2 separate regions of the Homo sapiens genome follow, and region 1 is linked to region 2. The links are contacts of gene promoters, found by promoter capture Hi-C in human tissues and cell types (Jung and others, 2019). All regions are on one chromosome and are shown on one strand. The core of a region is centred on a gene start or on the middle of the fragment in contact, and the rest is flanking DNA. Distances in the headings are between cores, read along the strand shown. Region 1 overlaps RBM14-RBM4 (RBM14-RBM4 readthrough). Region 2 holds the start of NPAS4 (neuronal PAS domain protein 4).

What was found. The method cuts DNA at HindIII sites, captures the fragments that hold promoters and counts their contacts. A contact is called where the count stands out against the background at its distance.
Region 1: a fragment that was not itself captured here is called in contact with the fragment with the promoter of NPAS4 in region 2 in 1 of the 25 tissues and cell types used here (liver).

Annotation. Positions count from the first base shown.
Region 1 is chr11:66,631,498-66,634,203 of GRCh38, reverse strand. All of the region lies in intron 1 of RBM14-RBM4 (RBM14-RBM4 readthrough), which reads right to left. Among named protein-coding and RNA genes, the nearest start is that of RBM4, 5.9 kb to the left of the region's middle. The HindIII fragment of the contact is 7,143 bases long and covers 1-2,706 here.
Region 2 is chr11:66,419,678-66,422,377 of GRCh38, reverse strand. NPAS4 (neuronal PAS domain protein 4) reads right to left here and starts at 1,343. Exons shown (of 8, transcript NM_178864.4): 1 at 1,024-1,343; 2 at 107-258. The coding sequence starts at 1,198. RefSeq lists silencers at 466-760, 454-768 and an enhancer at 701-1,297. The HindIII fragment of the contact is 8,655 bases long and covers 1-2,700 here.

The DNA.
Region 1 (2,706 bases), core at 184-2,683, 210 kb before region 2:
CTGTAATCCCATCACTTTGGGAGGCTGAGATGGGCAGATCACCTGAGGTCGGGAGTTCGAGACCAGCCTGACCAACATGGAGGAACCTCATCTCTACTAAAAAAAAAAAAAAAAAAATACAAAATTAGCCGGGCGTGGTGGCGCATGCCTGTAATCCCAGCTACTAGGGAGTCTGAGGCAGGAGAATCACTTGAACTCAGGAGGCGTAAGTTGCAGTGAGCCGAGATCGCACCACTACACTCCAGCCTGGGCAACAAGAGCAAAACTCTGTCTCAAAAAATAAATAAATAAATAAAGGCCAATTAAAGAGATCTGATCCAAATCCTCTGCCTTACCAGCTCAACTACAGAGAATGACATCAAAAGAGATGTTTTATTTATTTATTTATCTGAGAAGGAGTTTTGCACTTGTTGCCCAGGCTGGAGTGCAATGGCACTATCTCGGCTCACAGAAAACCTCCACCTCCGGGATTCAAGGGATTCTCCTGCCTCAGCCTCCTAAGTAGCTGAAATTACAGGCATGCGCCACCACGCCTGGCTAATTTTGTACATTTAGTAGAAGAGGGGTTTTGCCACGTTGGCCAGGCTGGTGTCAAACTCCAGACCTCTGGTGATCCACCCGCCTCAGCCTCCCAAAGTGCTGGAATTACAGGCGTGAGCCACCATACCTGGCAAAAGGGATGTTTTAAAACCACCTTGTTGGTCGGGCACAGTGTCTCATGCCTTCAATCCCGGCACTTTGGGAGGTCAAGGCAGGTGGAGTTCGAGGCCAGCCTGGGCAACATGGAGAAACCCTGTCTCTACTAAAAATACAAAAAAATTAGCTGGGTGTGGTGGTGCACACCTGTAGTTCCAGCCACTTGGGAGGCTGAGGTGGGAGAATCACCTGAGCTCAGGAGGCAGAGGCTGCAGTGAGCCAAGATCATGCCACTGCACTCCATCCAGCCTCAGGAACCAGAGAGACCATCTGAAAAAATTAAAATAAGTAAATAAAAGCACCTTGTCTGGAACACGGTAGATGCTATTTTGGTGATTCTTAATTTGCTGACTAGGCTACCAAGCTCCTCAGAGGTAAAGTGACTTGTCCAGTCATCTAGAAAGCTGACATTTTTTCAGAGCCAAGAATAAATATGTAATCTGGCTGCCAATCTTCAATAAAAAGGGCAGTGTATACAGAAATATAACTGAGAAATAAGAGATGAGACTCTCGGAAATGAGGGACAGATACAAACTTAGGGTTAAACACTGGTGACAGTGAAAACTACTTAGACATAAAAATGCAAACTATATGAGTTTTTTTTTTTCTTTTTTTGAGACGGAGTCTCACTCTGCCGCCCAGGCAGCCGTACAGTGGCTCAGTCTTGGCTCACTGCAACCTCTGCCTCCCAGGTTCAAGCGATTCTTATGCCTCAGCCTCCCGAGTAGCTGGGATTACAGGCACACGCCACCACGCCTGGCTGATTTTTTGTATTTTTAGTACAGACGGGGTTTCACCATGTTGGCCAGGCTGGTCTTGAACTCCTGACCTCAGGTGATCTGCCTGCCTCAGCCTCCCAAAGTGCTGGGATTACAGGCGTAAGCCACCATGCCCAGTCCAATCTGAGTTTTACAGGCTCAAGGACAAATATGTAACTTAAACATCTTAATATAACTTATACATCTAATAAATAACTCTGGCTCCTGGTCCAGAAATGAGTTACAGTTCTGCTAAGGGTGCAAACTAAAAATCCAGCATTCTCCAGGGATGTTCAATGGGCATCAGGCAGAAGGCTTCCTAGGCCTCCAATCCTACAGCCAATGCAACCTCTTAGCCTTCCTTAATGTCTTTGAAAATCCCCTACACTATCAATAACCTTTATTCTCCATATCCACAAGAATTGCTCCCAGGACACAAAATAGTATTGCCAGAGACTGGAGGTGGCCAAAATTGATGTGGTACAGTAGCCAAATCACTTCTAGGTATCGCTAATTACAAATATTCACTGCCTTCACTACTAGAAGTATGTGCTGCACTCACACCTATATCCAAAATCTTTGGATCAGCTGTGTGCTGCTCTACTAGGCCATCCCAGTGTCCCCAGAATGTTCTAACTCATTTATATGAGATGGCTAACATTTCATGAGAAGTGACTACATACACGTGTCACATGTCCTCATTTGACTCTCCCAACAGCCGTATAGCATAACGATTATAAACAAAGCCCTAGATGGTTCCAATGTCTGGTTCAGTTCCTTGAGCCACCAACTTTGTAGCCATTTGATCTTAAGAATGGCCAGGCATGGTGGCTCACACCCGTAATCCCAGCACTCTGAGAGGCCGAGTGGGAGGATCATTTGAGGTCAGGAGTTCGAGACCAGCCTGGCCAATATGGTAAAACCCCATCTCTACTAAAAATAGAAAAATTAGCTGGGTGTAGTGGTGCATCCCTGTAGTCCCAGCTACTCAGGAGGCTGAGGCAGAATTGCTTGAACCCAGGAGGTTGCAGTGAGCCAAGATCGCACCACTGCACTCCTCCCTGGGTGACACGAGACTCCATCAAAAAAAAAAAAAAGAATAGTCACTTAACCAACAGCCTCAACTCCCATATTTCCAAAATAGGTTTAGAAATAGCTAATGTTGGCCAGGCGTAGTGGCTCACGCCTGTAATCCAAGCACTTTGGGAGGCCAAGGCGGGCAGATCACGAGGTCAGGAGATCGAGACCATCC
Region 2 (2,700 bases), core at 94-2,593:
AGGGTATAACCTCTCCCTCCATAGTAATTCCCAGTTCCTCAGGAGTGGAAGGCTCACGGCACCCACTCCATGCCCAGCCTCAGCTGAAAGGACCCTTAGCACTCACCATGGAGTGGCCCAGATGCTCGCTCACACTCTCAGACAGGTAGAGCAATTTCCCCTCGGCTGTGAACACAAGCAGAAAGCCGGGTAGTGCCGCTACGATGTCCTCAAGCTCTTGAGCTGAGAGAAGCCCCGTGGGGCCCGCCAGAGGAGTGCCTGTAGGGCGAGAAGACGTAGTGCGTCAGGAGTAAGACTGGGAGGCAGAGAAGAAGTGAGGAAGGCATGGTCTGAGTTTCAGAGAATCCAGAGGAATTTCTCATGGACCTGCCTCTGCAAACACCTGTTGACCCGCTGCCCGCAGCTCTTGGCCAGGGAACCTGTTGCTGTATCTCCATAGCCCACAAGCCCTCGACTTCTAAAGCGGGGTCGGCTCCTCTCGGCTCTTAATTTCAGAACCGCGGACAGAGCTCCAAAGCGGCTCTGAATTTCAGAACCGCGGACAGAGCTCCGAAGCCGACTGTGGGTTCAGAACCATGGACAGAGCCATACACGGCCGGCGCAGCCGTCAGCACCATGGGCAGCGCCCCGAAGGCGACAGGAGATCCCTTTCAGCACCGCGGACAGTAGCTATGTTCCCCTAGGCTCAGGCAGCTCCATCCCTGCAACTTCCCGGGCTTCCCTCCCCGGCTCCCGGAGCGCTTCTGCACTGGCGGGCACCGAGGCCGCTCTGTCCTGGCTCTTATCCTCTCATAATCTGGTGTTAGGGACACCGTCCAGGCTCTCTAACTCTCATTCAGAACTAAGGTGAGGTCTGGAGGGAGCTCAGGAGGAAAAGTAGAAAGTCCCGAATCTCCCGAGTCCCGAATCTCCCCAGCTCGCCAGCACGCTGCCCTAGACATGCGACAGCCCCAGCGGGTTCCCTCAGCTCCAGGGTCTCCGGCGCCTGGCAGCTCGGATCTGCGGTAGCCCCAGCATGCTCACCACCAGCGAAGAAGACGCCCTTGCGAGTGTAGATGCAGGCGAGGCTCATGATGTGCAGGTAGGACAGCCGGACCTTGTCCGCTTCGGCCAGCGGCAGCAGCTCCTTGAGGTTCCGGATCTCGGCGTTGATCTGGTCCCGGCGCGCCTTGGAGGCGCCCTTGGTGGAGCGGTACATGACCGGCGGCTGCGGAGCTCCAGCTCGGGTGCCCGAGCACCTGCGCTCCCGTCCCGACGCACCGGCGGCTTCCTCCTCCGTGCTTCCCCGTCTCTCGCTCAGGCTCGCTCTCTGCTCTCCTGGGCTCCGCTCGGCTGCGCTGCCCCCCTCGCCTGCCTCACGCCGCCTTATATAGCTCCTGCCAGGCGTGGGGGGCTCGTTTTAGAGCCGGGGGGGCGGGAGAGCGGGAGGCTGGGCTAAGCAAGCTGCAGCGGGAGCCGCTGACTGGGGAGGGGGGCTCCTCCTCCCGCCCGGCTTCCGACGTCATCTCATGACGTAGAATGAGAGAGGGAGGGAGGCGGGCGAGGGGGGAGCAGGAGGCTGCGGAGGGGGCCAAGCCTGGCGGGAGCTGAGCGGAGAGGAAGGCGCTGCGTTAGGAAAGCTTGAATGGAGTGTGGGGACCCTGGCGTCTGAATGCGTTCAGTTGAGGGAAGCGACAGGGCCAGGTTTAGGGCGGCCTGAAGCCCGCGGCAGGAGTCCGCAGAGGGCAGAGAGGGGCCGGCACTGACACTAATTTTTCTGAGGAGTTGAGGGAATGGGGAAGAACAGGGTTGTCTACAAATCCCCCTCGTTACTTGACAGACAAGGTCACGTTCACATGCAGGGAAGGAGGACTTTCCTTGGCCTCCGTGGGACAGGTCACTGCTGGGGTTCCTCTCTGGGGACTATTTAACCTGGGATTCCCTTGGCCATTTTTAGAGAACAAATTCCCGCCCCCGCTTCCCAAATCGGGCCTTGGCGGCTTATCAGGGGGTGTTCATGGGGGTCTAAGTCCCGAGGATGGGTGGAAAGGGAGTCCGGTGGGAAAGGGACCAGCTGAATTTGGCGTTGATCCTGTTTTCCCACAGCCAAGAATAGAAACCAACATCAGCGCTGTAGTCTGCAGTGATTCGTGGTTTCCCTCTCAGCTAATTAACCTTACTGAAGGGGAAACTGAGGCAGGGACGTGGGGGCACGGCGAGGACCTGGGTCTGCACTTAGGCATCCCTTCCCCCCGTTGCCGGCCCCCAAGCGAGCGCTTCCCCCCGCCCTGCTGCCAGCCTCTGTCTCCCCGCGGGCCGGGGGCGGGGGCGGGGCCGGGGGAATCCCAGCTCCATATTAGGACAGGAATCCTCCGGCGGCTGCCGCGGCTGCGGCGGGCGGGGCCTGGCTGCCTCCGCACCGCTCCGGAGGGCTCCCCGCCCTGCCTAGGCGGGCAAGATGGGGGAGCAGCTGAGAAGCGAAGGGGCAGCGCCGGACCCTCCATGACCCCTGCACCTACCAGGGACCCTGTATTTTTGCCAGGTTCCCTCCACCCCTCTCCACATTTGCGCCTCTAAGGCTCCTGGCTCTGCCTCTCCACCTTCAGCTCTCCACTTTCCACCTTCGTTTCTTTTTCTGTCCTTTCATATCCTTTTCTATCCTTTTCATATCCTGTCACCTTTGCCCTATCCCCACCCCCCCACACACCCGCTTTTTTTCTC